Regions from separate parts of the Homo sapiens genome. Here region 1 is linked to region 2. The links are contacts of gene promoters, found by promoter capture Hi-C in blood cells and fetal thymus (Javierre and others, 2016). All regions are on one chromosome and are shown on one strand. The core of a region is centred on a gene start or on the middle of the fragment in contact, and the rest is flanking DNA. Distances in the headings are between cores, read along the strand shown. Region 1 overlaps LINC02942 (long intergenic non-protein coding RNA 2942). Region 2 holds the start of CR1 (complement C3b/C4b receptor 1 (Knops blood group)).

Evidence for each region. Contacts are between HindIII fragments. The CHiCAGO score rates a contact against its expected background, and 5 or more counts as called.
Region 1: a fragment that was not itself captured here is called in contact with the fragment with the promoter of CR1 in region 2 in 1 of 17 cell types (M2 macrophages); the score reaches 5.0 in M2 macrophages.

What each region holds. Positions count from the first base shown.
Region 1 is chr1:207,255,657-207,262,528 of GRCh38, reverse strand. The region is part of intron 2 of LINC02942 (long intergenic non-protein coding RNA 2942); the gene reads right to left. All of the region lies in intron 1 of LOC107985251 (a long non-coding RNA gene), which reads left to right. Among named protein-coding and RNA genes, the nearest start is that of LINC02942, 19 kb to the right of the region's middle. The HindIII fragment of the contact is 1,860 bases long and covers 525-2,384 here.
Region 2 is chr1:207,492,632-207,499,630 of GRCh38, reverse strand. CR1 (complement C3b/C4b receptor 1 (Knops blood group)) reads right to left here and starts at 3,474. Exons shown (of 47, transcript NM_000651.6): 1 at 3,243-3,474. The coding sequence starts at 3,363. RefSeq lists an enhancer at 12-71. The HindIII fragment of the contact is 13,119 bases long and covers 1-6,999 here.

The DNA.
Region 1 (6,872 bases), core at 205-2,704, 240 kb after region 2:
GATGAATAATATTATCTCTCATTCTACAAGTTGTCTCTTCACTCCGTTGATTTTTTCTTTTGCTGTGTAGAAGCTTTTTAGTTAGATTAAATCCCATTTGTCTATTTTTGTTTTTGCTGCCTGTACTTTGAGGTTCTTTGAGGTTACAAATTCTTTGCCTAGGCCAATATCCAGGAGACTTTTCCCTAGATTTTCTTTTAGTATTTTTATAGATTTTGGTCTTACATTTAAGTCTTTAATCCATTTTGAGTTGATTCTTTAATATGGTGAGAGATAGGTATTCAGTTTCATTCTTCTGCATGTGGCAATCCAGTTTACCCAGCACCATTTAGTAAAGAGGATGTCTTTTCCCCAGTGTAAATTCTTGTCAGCTTTGTCAAAGATGAGTTAGCTGCAAATATGTGGCTTTATTTCTGGGTTCTCTATTCTCTTCCACAGGTCTATTTTTATACCAACACCATGCTGTTTTTGTTACTATAGCCTTGTATTATATTTTGAAATCAGATAACATGATGCCTCAAGCTTTGTTCTTTTTGCTCAGGATTGCTTTGGCTACTAGGGCTCTTTTTTAGTTCCATGTGAATTTTAGATTGTTGTTGCTATTTCTGTGAAGAATATCACTGATATTTATTGCTCGGGTTTCACTGAATCTTTAGATTACTTTGTGCAGTATGGTGATTTTGACAATATTAATTCTTCCAATTCATGAGCTTGGGATGTTTTTCCAATTCTTTGTGTCATCAATTTCTTCCATCAATGTGTTTTGTAATTTTTCTTATAGATGTCTTTCACCTCCTTAGTTACATTTATTCCTAGGTATTTTATTTTTTTGTTGCAATTGTAAATGGTTTCTTGACTTCCTTTTCAGCTAGTTTGATATTGTTGTATAGAAATGCTACAGGTATTTGTATGTTGACATGTACAATTATTTAATTTTATTAGATGTTTGTTGGCAGAAAAATTATGTTTTTCTTAATGTTCTCTAAATAATGCACTATTGATATTTATATTAACTGTGAAACAATTTTCCTATTATTTAAATATTAAAAAGTTTTTTTGCACATACAATAAATAGCTTTAACAGTCATCATTAATCATAGTAGTGTACATATAGGACATATTTATAGTAATACAAATATCATATATTTATTCATCAACTGACAGAATCTTAATATAAAGCACATAAGGAGACTTCTCACTCTGTGCCACATCTAGAATATATACTTAGATTCTTTGAAAAGGTTCACTAGTAACTCTAAATCTGAAGGGCTTTTTCTTTTTTTTTAGACGGAGTCTCTCTCTTGTCGCTCAGGCTGGAGTGCAGTGACGTGATCTCAGCTCACTGCAACCTCCACCTCTTGGGTTCAAGCAATTCTCCTGCCTCAGCCTCCTGAGTAGCTGGGATTACGGGCACTCGCCACCATGCCCAACTAATTTTTGTACTTTTAGTAGAGACAGGGTTTTGCCATGTTGTCCAGGCTGGTCTTAAACTCCTGATCTCAGGTGATCTGCCCGTCTCGGCCTCCGAAAGTGCTGGGATTACAGGTGTGAGCCACCGTGCCTGGCCTAAATGACATTTTTAATGTCATTGTTATTCTGATTAGAAGTGATTAGATATGACAGTCAGGAATGTCAGAAATTACATTGCAAGGGAAGTAGGGGGAGACTGATGAACAGAAGTTGGTTAAGGGATACAAAAATACGATTGATAGAAGGAGTAATTTCTGGTATTTGATAGTTAGCTATAATTTATTGTATATTTCCAAATAGCTAGAAGAGAACTGTAATGTTTTCAACACAAAGATAAATGTTTAAGGTGATAGATATCCCAATTACAATGATTGAATAATTACACATTATATACATGTGTCAAAATATTACATGCACCCCCAAATGTGTACAACCATAGTATAGCAATAAAAAATTAAAAATTAGATCTGGAAAGAGGGGAGGAGCAAGATAGTTGAATAGACATCTCCACTGATTGTCCCTCCTACAGAAGCACCAAATTTAACACTATCTACACAATAAAAGCATCTTCGTGAGAACCAAAAACTAGGTGAACACTCACAGTACCTGGTTTTAACTTCCTACTGCTGACAGAGGCACCAAAGACAATAGGAAAGACAGTCTTGAATTGCTGACACCACTACCCCATACCCTGGCAGTGGCCACATGAGGCAGAGAGAGAATCTGTGTGCTTGGGAGAGGGAGAATGCAGCAACTGTGAGACTTTGCATTGACCTCAGTGCTCCCCTGTCACAGCGAAAAGCAAAATAAGGCTGAACTCAGCAGATGCCCACCTATAGAGGAAGCAGTTTGAGGAGCCCTCACCAGATGGGAATCACCCATCCCAGTAGTTGGAATTTGAGTTCCAGCAAGCTTTGCCACCACAGGCTAAAGTGCTTTGAGGCCTAAATAAACTTGAAATGTAATCTGGGCCACAAGGACTGCAACTCCAAGGCAAGTCCTAGTTCTGAGCTGGGCTCAGAGCCCGTGGAACTGGGGGGCATGTGACCTACTGGGACATCAGCCAGGGCAGCCAGGGCTTGTGCTACCCCTCCCCAAACCTCAGACAGCACAGCTCGTGGCTCCAAAAGAGACCTCTTGCTTTTGCTTGAGGAGAAGAAGGGCAAGAGTAATAAGGACTTTGTCTTGCATCTTGGATACAAGTTCAGCTACAGTAAGATAGGGTACCAGTCAGAATTGTGAAGCCCCCACTCGAGGCTCTAGCTCCTGGATGACATTTCTAGACATACCCTGGGCCAGAAGGGAAACTGCTGCCTTGAAGAGAAGGACCCAGTTCCAGCAGTACCTCATCACCTGCTGACTAAAGAGGCTTGGGCCCTGAATAATCAGTAGTGAGACCCAGGTAGTACACTCTGGGCCTTGGGTAAGATTCTGAGACATGCTGGCTTCAAGTGAGACCCAGCACATTCCCAGTTGTTGTGGCTATGGAATGACTCCTCCTGCTGGAGAAAAGCAGAAGGAAAAGTAAAGGGGACTTTGTCTTGTACCTTACATACCAGCTCAACCACAGGGGCAAACCATCAAGCAGGCTCTTGGGGGTCCCTATTTCCAGGCCTTGGCTCTTGGATGGCATTTCTGGACATTCCCTGGACCAGAGTGGAGCCCACTTCCCTGAAAAGTGAGTCCCAGGCCTGGCGGCATTCACCACAAGCTAACTGAAGAGTCCTTGTGCCTTTAGTGAACATTGGTGGTAGCCTGGCAGGACTCACTGTGGGCCTGTGGTGGTGGTAGCCGTGGAATGAAGCTCCTCTGCCTATGGAAAGGGGAGAGAAGAATGGGAAGGACTGGGTCTTGTGGTTTGAGTGTCAGCTCAGCTGCAGGACAATAGAATACCAAGTAGATTCCTAAGGTTTTCAACTCCAGTCCCTGACTCCTAGATGCCATCTCTATACCTACCAAGGGTGTCGAAAACTTGCTTCCCTGAAGAGAAGGACACAAGCCTGGCTGGAGTCATCACCTGCTGATTGTAGAGCCCTAGAGCCTTCACCAAACATAGGCAGTAGAAAGGTAGTCATTACAGTGAGCCTTGGGCGAGACCTAGTGCTGTGATGGCTTCAGGCCTGACCCAGCACAGTAGTGATGGTGGCCATGGAGGTGCTTGTGTCACCTTAATCCCAGCTCCAGACAGCTCAGCATGGAAAGAGAGAGGCCCTGTTTGTTTGGGAGAAAATAAGAAAAGAGAACAGGTAATCCAGAGAATCTTCCAGATCTTATCCAAGACCACCAAGGTGGTACCTCTATGAGTCTGCAATAACTACAGTATTAGTGGATTTGGGGTCCCCCTTAATGCAGACATGGCTTAGGTTACACCACCCAAGTCCTTTTGAATATCTCAAAAGCCTTCCCAAGGACAGGCACAAACAAGCCCAGAATGCAAAGACTTCAATAAATACCTAACTCTTCAATTTCCAGAAATTGGCAAACATCCACAAGCATCCAGACCATCCATGAAAACATGGTTTTACAAAATGAACTAAGTAAGTTACCAGGGACTGATTCTGGAGAAACAGAGATATGTGACCTTTCAGGAAAAGTTTTCAAAATACCTGTTTTGAGGAATCCCAAAGAAATTACAGAAAACACAAAGAAGGAATTCAGAATTCTGTCAGATAAATTTAACCAAGATATAGAAATAATTAAAAAGAATTAGGAAGAAATTCTGGAGTTGAAAAATGCAGTTGACAATGAAGAATGTATCAGAATCTTTTAACAGAAGAATAGATCAAGCAAAAGAAAGAATTAGTGAGCTTGCAGACAGCCTACTTGAAAATACACAGTCAGAGGAGAAAAAGAATAACAAAAAGCAAAGCACACCTACAAGATCTAGAAAATAGCTTCAAAAGGGCAAATCTGAGAGTTATTGGCCTTAAGAGGTAGAGAAAGAGATAAGAGTAGGACATTTATTCAAAGGGATAAGAATAGAGAAATTTTCAAGCCTAGAGAAACGTATTAATATCAAAGTACAAAAAAGTTATAGAACACCAAGCAGATTTAACTCAAAGAAGACTATCTCAAGGCATTTAATAATCAAACTCCCAAAGGTCAAGGATAAAGAAAGGAACCTAAAAGCTGCAAGAGGAAAGAAACAAATGATATACAGTGGAGCTCCAATATGTCTGGCAGCAGACTTTTCAGTGAAAACCTTACAGGCCAGAAGAGAGTGGCATGACATATTTAAAGTGCTGAAGGAAAACAACTTTTACCCTAGAATAGTATATCTGGCAAAAGTATCCTTCAAACATGAAGAGATGTAAAGACTTTCCCAGAGAAACAAAAGCTGAGGGATTTCATCAACACCAGGCCTGTCCTATAAGAAATGCTAAAGGGAACACTTCATCCAGAAAGAAAGGGACATTATGAATAGTAAGAAACCATCTGAAAGCACAAAACTCACTGGTAGTAGTAAGTACACAGAAAAACACAGTATGATAACACTGTAACTGTGGTATGTAAACAAGTCTTATCTTAAGTAGAAGACTAAAAGATGAACCAATCAAAAATAATAACTACAACTTTTCAATACGTAGTGCAATAAGATATAAATAGAGACAACACGAAGTTAAAAAGCAGGGCACAAAGTTAAAAAACAGAGTTTCTATTAGTTTTCTTTTTGCTTGTTTATTTATGCAAACAGTGTTAAGATGTTATCAACTTAAAATAATGGGATATAAGACAGTATTTGCAAGCCTCATGGCAACCTATAATAAAAAAAATACAATGTATACACCAAAAATAAAAAGCAGGAAATTACATCATACCACCAGAGAAAATCATCTTCACTAAAAGGAAGACAGAAAAGAAGGAAAAAAGAAAGAGAAGTCCACAAAACAACCAGAAAACAAATTTTTTAAAAGGCAGAAGTAAGTCCTTACTTATCAATAATAATATTGAATGTAAATGGACTAAACTCTCCAGTAAAAAGACAGAGTATCAGAATGGATGAAAAAAAGAGGATTCGATGATCTGTTGCACACAAGAAACCCATTTCACCTAAAAAGACACATATAGACTGAAAATAAGGGGATGGAAAAAGATATTCTGTGGTGATGGAAACCAAAAAAGAGCAAGAGTAGCTATACTCATATCAGACAAAATAGATTGCAAGACAAAAACATGGAATGCAGCAAAAGTATTAAGAGGAAAGTTTATAACAATAAGTGGCCCCACCCCCACCCAAATCTCATCTTCAATTGTAGTTTCCATAATTCCCATATGTCATGGGAGGGACACAGCAAGAGGTAATTTAATGATGGGGGCAGTTCCCCCATGCTGTTCTCATGATAGTGAGTTCTCACAAGATCTGATGGTTTTATAAGGGGATTTTCCCCCTTTGCTCAGCACTTTTTCCTGCTGCCATGTAAAGAAGGGTGTATCTACATCCCCTTCTGCCGTGATTGTAAGTTTCCTGAGGCCTCCCCAGCCATGCTAAACTGTGAGTCAATTAAAACTCTTTTCTTTATAAATTACCCAGTCTTGGGTGTGTCTTTATTAACAGCGTGAGAATGGACCAATACAGTAAATTGGTACCTCAGATAGTGGGTTGCTCCTATAAAGATACCCAAAAATGTGGAAGTGACTTTGGAACTGTGTAACAGGCAGATGTTGGAACAATTTGGAAGGCTCAGAAAAAGACAGGAAAATGTGGGAAAGTTTGGAACTTCCAAGAGGCTTGGAGAGGTCAGAAGACAGGAAGATGTGGGAAAGCTTGGAACTTCCTAGAGACTTGTTGAATGGCTTTGCCCAAAATGCTGATACTGATATGGACAATGAAGTCTAGGCTGAGGTAGTCTCAGATGGAGATGAGGAACTTGTTGGGAACTGGAGCAAAGGTGACTCTTGTTATGTGTTAGCAAACAGACTGGCAGCATTTTGCCCCTGCCCCAAAGATCTGTGGAACTTTGAATTTGAGAGAGATGATTTAGGGTATCTGGCAGAAGAAATTTCTAAGGAGCAAGGCATTCAAGAGGAAGCAGAGCATAAAAGTTTGGAAAATTTGCAGCCTGACAATGCAATAGGAAAAAAAAACAAAAAACAAAACGACATTTTCTGGGGAGAAATTCAAGCCAGCTGCAGACATTTGCTTAAGTAATGAGAAGCCAAATGTTAATCACCAAGACAATGGTAGAAATGTCTCCAGGGCATGTCAGAGACCTTCACAGAGAGGGAAAAATGGTTTTCTGGGCTGGGTGCAGAGCCCCTCTGATCTGTGCAGCTTTGGGACATGGGGCACTGCGTCCAAACTTCTTCAGCTCCAGCTGTGGCTGAAAGGAGCCAATGTACAGCTTGGGCCATTGCTTCAGAGGGTGCAAGCCCCAAGCCTTGGCAACTTCCACGTGGTTGTT
Region 2 (6,999 bases), core at 2,225-4,724:
ATGGCTCAGAATGTGGTCTATCCCCATGAATGTAAGCGGGAGAATATGTGCTCTGCTGTTGTGGATGAAGTCATCTATATATGTCAATTATACCCAAGTGGATTGATGGTGCTGTTGAATTCAAGTATGTCCTTACGGATTTTCTGCCTGCTGAATCTGCCCATTTCTGATAAGGAGACTTCAGCACCTTTTCTGATATCAGAAAGATATCATAGAAGTCTCCAACTATGATAGTAAATCCATCTATTTCTCCTTGCAGTTCTATGGGTTTTGCCTCACGTATTTTGTCTCTCCATCAGGTGCATACATATGGGATATTGTTACGTCTTCTTGGATAATTGGCCCCTTTATCATTATATGATGCCCCTCTTTATCCCTAATAATTTTTCTTGGTCTGAAGTCTGCTGTGTTTGAAATTAACACAGCTATTCCTGCTTTCTGTGACTAGCATTAGCATGGTATATCTTTATCCATTTACTTTTCATATATATTGTCTATATTTAAAACGGTCTTGTTGTACACAGTATATAGTTGGGTCTTGTTTCTTGATCCACTCTGATGATCTGTTTCAAATGGTGCATTTCGATCATTGACACTCAAAATGATTGTTGATATAGTTGCTTTAGTTTTGTTACTGGTTTTTATTTGTTGCTTTTTTTCTCTTGTTCTCTGTTTCTATTTTTTGTCTTCCATTCTTTTCCTGCCCTTTATTGTTTTTTGTTTTGTTTGTTTGTTTCTTTTTTTTTTTTTTTTGATTTGGAGTTGCGCTCTGTCACCCAGGCTGGAGTGCAATGGCACGATCTCGACTCACTGCAACCTCCGCCTCCCAGGTTCAAGCGATTCTCATGCCTCAGCCTCCCGAGTAGCTGGGACTACAGGCACCCACCATCATGCCCTGGTAATTTTTGTGTTTTTGTAGAGACAGGGTTTCACTATGTTGGCCAGGCTGGTCTTGAACTCCTGACTTGAGGTGATCCACCCACCTCAGCCTCCCAAAGTGCTGGGATTATGGGCATGAGCCACTGTCCCCAGCCATCTTTATTGTTTTAACTGAGCATTTTATATGATGCAATTCTCTCTTACTTATTAACATATAAATTATAGTTCTTTTTTTCACATTTTTCAGGGGTTGTCCTACATTTGCAATATCTATTTGCAGCTAATCTAAGTCCTCTTTCAAATAGCACTATACCACTTTACGGGTACTGTGAGTAACTCATAATAACAAAACAATCCTAGCTCCTCTGCTATTTTTTGTCGTATGCAATCTGTTTCTAGATTCACTCTTTAAGTGCTAGTAAAGCCATATACCTTTCACTCATCCTTTCCTGATCATAGGAGTTGAGATTTCTCGCTTTTCGGTGATCCTGCAGTCTTGCACGACTTCTTAGTCATGGTTTTTCAGACATGCATGGGGGTTTTCAGATTACAAAACACTGTCACATGCATTACACCATCTGATTTTCAAAACGTCTCTCTCAGAGATCAGGATGTCAGTTGTGCTCATTTTATACATGTGGACACTGAAGGTCAGTGATGTGACTTAACTTACTGGGTCCAAGACACCAGCTGGTAAGTAGCAGAGGCTGGAAAAAGCAGAACGCTGGCTTCCTAATAAGTAGATTTCATAAAACTCCACCACCTACTTCTATATGCATACACTTTGGGTGCAGAGCTCTTATACTTCTTTAAAATTCCAAAGGACCGTGCACACTGGAAGCATCCATCAGCATTTTAAAATTTAAATTATGTCAGCAACAAAATTTCTAGGTAGTTTAGTTTAGGCTGTTTCACATTTGGAAGTTATTGTGATAACCTCAGTAAATTTTTTTTTTGCAATTAATAGTGTCTGGGATTGTTTATAACAGTAACTTAATCAACATAGGCTAAGTAAAACAACATTCTAGTAAGAAGAGGGCCAGTACTCCCAAAGATGACACAAATTCCTAAGCGTTGACAACAGATTGCTTAACTTACTGGGCATGCTTCTCTCCTAAAAATAAGATTGTACGTTTTATCACATCTCTGCACCTGACAGGTTACTTTCTGGTGCCTAAGGAGATCAAATATTAATAACAACTCTTGCGGGACTTGGTTCTACTTTATTTTATTTTATTTACTCTTTTAGAGAAGAAGGAACACTCAAATAATGAATGTAAAATGTCTAGTGGCAGAGAAGGGCGAACCCGGAGTTGTCAGGAATAGGCTGGACAAAAACAACCAAGACTGTCACTTCAAATGAGATGTTGCCAGTGAGTCTAGGCAACCAAGAAGACTTCTGGGGAGCCGAAAAATAATAATAGAAGGGTTCTAACTGAAGATGTTTACCTATTTGAAGTTAAGAAAAAGGAAGAGATGTGGCCTCAAAATTTCCATAATAATTATAATAGGCGTTATTTTGTACTAAACACATCACTAAAATGCGAACTGTAAACATATCTACTGTCCCTTCTACCTGCAACGGTTACATTGCATGTTCTGGGGCTTCCCTTGCTCTTCTAATCCGCAAGTGCCTGGCATGCATCTGTCTTAAAGTATGCTGTCAATTAAGTGCATGGTGATGATGGCCGTGGTGGCTTGGTGTGGGGGGCGAGGACAGTTCCATGCGGGGCAGTTGTCAGGTAACACCTGCATCCCTAGGACTGCTTGTCTAAACACCATTGGGAGCAAAGTACAGAGGTAACGGTTGGGGGATAGAAATGGACTCGGGGACACATAGCCCTGTGTTAGATACTCGACAGGCTTAATGCCACTGAGGCAGCAACTCCACGATGCAGAGATACCAGTGTCCCCATTTTACAGAAGAGCAAACAGACTCAGGTGTGCTAAGTTGCCTCACAGTTAAGTTTCTAGGACCAGAACTCAGGTTTGTCGGATCCCCAAGTTCCCTTTCACTAGGATCAACGCCACGTCTTGGCTATAGCCAGCCGAGGCTGTGAATACACAAAGGCAAGGAATTTCGTGCGGCACCCGCTCAGCATCTGCGCCTTCCACTGCGCTCGTCACGACTTAAGCCCCTGCACCTGGGAACTCCACGCTTACCCAGAAGCAGCGAGGGTCTCCAGTGCGCAGAAGGATCCTACACCCGCCGCCCTGCCGGGTCGCGCGCTCAGCCCACCCATCGCGCTGCCTTCGGACCCGGGCGCGCAGAGCAGCGCAGCTCAGCGCTGCACGCGAGTTCTCTGCGGGGCCCCGGGTTCCTCGTCCGCCCGGGCGCCTCCCCACGCCCGCCCGCCTCTCACCCCAGGCCACCGGCAGCGCAAGCAGCACCACAACCGCCAGCAGGGATCCTCCGCAGCAGAAGGGGAGACCGGGCGCCGGCGGCCCGACAGGCTCCGGGCTTCTTGGAGAAGAGGCCCCCATTCTCCCCAAGCACATCTACAAACCAGATTTGATCTCGAAGAAAACTGAAATAAGAGGAAAAGCTCAGCGAAAATAGGAGTGACCAATCATTGTGCTCCGCGCCCAGAGTGTGGGGAGGGCTGCGGGGTTCCGGGACAAAATGCTTTTGACCACAGCTTCCCCTTCATGGGCGAGGTCATGTTTACTCCCCATTTGCATTGTTTCTAACGAGTTTCGCTGGCAGAGCCCACCTTGCTGACCCAGGTGCAGCAGCAGAGCTTGACAATGCTCGGGCTTCCGATGGATCCCGCGTGTGAGGCCCTGCGCTTCCAGACAAAGGCGGTGGATGATGGCAGCTCGCCTCCAAACACCCTGCTTAACTTTTCCTCTTTGCAAGAATGTGTGTGGGAAGGTCAGCTAATGAAATGCCTGCTCTCCGTGTTGAAGGGCAATTGCAGGCGATGTGTACGGTGTACAGGGAATGTGAAGAAACAATTTCCTTACCCTGAATTGAGACGTCATGCCATTGTAAGATTTTTTAAAAGGGAGGGACAATTAGATACACATTTAAAAAATGTAAATCTGTGTATAGTATGGAAGGTAGATTAGAATAGGGCAATAATGGACTGCGAAGACCAGTCAGGGGAGCTTTTGCCGACATCCAAGTGAGGTTTGATGGCGGCCCTGACTGGGTGGATAAAGTGGACAATTAACAAAGATATTGGAGATGGAATGAACAGTTGCTCATGTATTGGATTTTGGTTACTTCCTTTCTTAAGGTTGGTGGTGAGAAGAAAGCAATCAAGAGTTAGCCCCCTTGCGGTAGTTTGCTGAGAATGATGGTTTCCAGCTTCCACAATGAGAACACATGGACACAGGAAGAGGAACATCACACACCGGGGCCTGTTGTGGGGTGGGGGGAGGGGGGAGGGATAGCATTAGGAGATATACCTAATGTAAAGGACGAGTTAATGGGTGCAGCACACCAACGTCGCACATGTATGCATATGTAACAAACCTGCACGTTGTGCACATGTACCCTAAAACTTAAAGTATAATAAAAAAAAGAAACAAAAAAAAGAAAAAAGAAAGAAATAATTAAATAATTAAGTTTAAAAAAGGTAGAAAAAATAATATTTTATCTTTTTTATTGGGGGTGGCCTGTCCTTCTGACATGTACTGCCTGCCTGTAGGTAGGCTATTTTGCCTGGGTTTTTCTCTTAAAATAATTTTGACTTTAAACCTTGATTTTGTTGTTGTTGTTGTTGTTGTTGCTAATTTTATGTTAAACTTGTTTTCCTTAACCATTAAAAGGAGACATGATTCAGAAAAGAAAAAAAAAAAAGAGTTAGCCCCAGGATTAGAAATGAATGGTGGTGCTACTTACTGAAATAAGAAGTATGGATGTAGGACTGACAGATTTAGGGCAGAGGGTTAAGTATTCAAGGATGAATGTATTCCTCCTATCTATCTGTGATCCTGTGCCCTTTAACCAATCTCTCTCCATCTCCCATTGTCTCTCCCTTCCCCAGCCTCTGGTAACCAGTATTCTACCCTCTACTTCTATGAGATGAGTTTTTTAGAGTCCACATATGACTAATAACATACAGCATTTGTCTTTCTGTGCGCATTGGTTTCCATTAGGCTTCCTCCCAAAATTCTAGTGGAAGAAATGTCTACTTTGATCATATCACTTATCACAGTTTTTAGTACATCCAGTGACATTCTTTTAAGGATTTGCTATCATCATTTCAAGTTATTCTCAACAGAGTAATGGGAGTAGCAGCCAGATTGTAGTAGGCTTAGGAAAAGAGAAGAGGAGAAGGCTCATTTCCCCAGTTTTACATCACATGCTATCAGAAGGTGCCACTCCTTACCACTTCTGCTGGTATCCATCTCCTAGTATCTACTTTCTCCCTCATTCCTTGAAAGTTTGAGCTCCTGGCTCATGGCCACCTTCTCCACTGTTACTTCTGCCACAGTTCCTGGTGATTTCAACATTCACAGCAATAGTATTTTCAAATCCCTGGCCTTCCAGTGCCTTGACCTCTTCTCTGCCTGTGGTCTTGTCCTCCACTCTCCTCTGACTCTAATGCTCATGTGCATGCTCGGAGACTTGTCACTTTCAACCTCTCAGTGATTTCAATGATCCCACTCTCTAACCACCAATCCAACTCTTTTCTTTTACCCTAGTAACGTTAAACTGAATCCAGCAATCTTTGTCTGTCTCAGTGCCTGCAGCCCATTGATCCTACCGCTATCTCTCTCAGCTTCTCACCTCCTTTGTGTCTTCACTTTCATCACTACCAGGTTAAATTCCATACTCTGTCATTATAATCACCATCTTGCACCCACTGTTAGCTCCCTCACCCTTCTCTTGGGTTATTATAGCCATTAGACAAAACAACATTCCTGGTTAGAATCAATTCTCCATTATTTTGCTCTCATACCTGTGAAACTGAATGTGGCTGGAAAAGACACATAGCCACAATGACTAGCCTTACTTTAGTAACAAATAATTTCAAATGGACCATTATACTTCTGCCTGACATTCCCACTATTGTTTGTCTAATCCATTTATTCTCCCATTCTCCTAAATGACTATTTCATATTTTTATTTTGACATTTATTTCTGACACCTTCTCCAACATTCTTAATTTCTGTGAATGGCTTTGTTTCTTTCTTTATTGAGAAAATAGAAACAATCAAATAGATCTACAATTTTCTACCATCACTCCACCCAAATTCTTGTATTTGGCCCATGAAACCTCCGTCTCTCCTGTTAATATAATTATACTGTTCACAGTCTAAGTCTAAGGGTGATCTCTCCACTTGTGCCCTAGATTCGATTTGCTCTCACTCACTCAAGGAAACCAGCAATTCTCACTTCCTCCAGCACTATCATACACCTCTTTCTGCTGGATTTTTACCATCAGCTTGCAAACAAATTATTTCTCCAAGTGCAGCAGGTGTATTTTTCTCTTCAGTTTTTTCCTCCCATTTAATATTCCTTTTGCTTAGAATGCTCTTTGCCCAGATATCGCTCTGCATGGCTACTACCTCATCTCCTTGAGTTATTTGGCTCAAATGAGACCTTCTTAATGGAGCCTTCCTTGGCCACTATTTAAAATTGCACATTAATTCAGAACTTCCTTTCCTTTTTGCCTGTTTCATATAGATTAAAAAATTATACTTATCATTTTTTCATTTTATTACCAACTGAAAATCTGCTTATTGTGTGTCTCTCCCACCAGAATAAAAGCTGCATGAGAACATGTCAGTTTACGACTGCCAAATCCCATGACCTAAAATAATGCTTAGCACACAGAAGGAGCTCCATAATTATCATCACTTGAATGAATGACTACAGTGGTTGAGACAGCTAAGGCCAACCACTCTTTCAGAAAATTTGGTGTAAGAGAGGTAGTTTAAACGAGAAACATAGATGGTTTGGGGGAAGATTTTTTTCAGATGGAGGTGAAGGTGGATATCTGTTGCTCTAAATGGGTCCCTTCCTCTGGGATTTGCCCCTAGATTTTTCCACTGGGAAATCCCCTCTTTCCCATAGTTCAGTGTGATTCTGGAAGACTATGGTTTCTCGACCTCAATATTATTGACATCGTGGACCAGATAATTCTTTGTTCTGGAGGGCTGTCT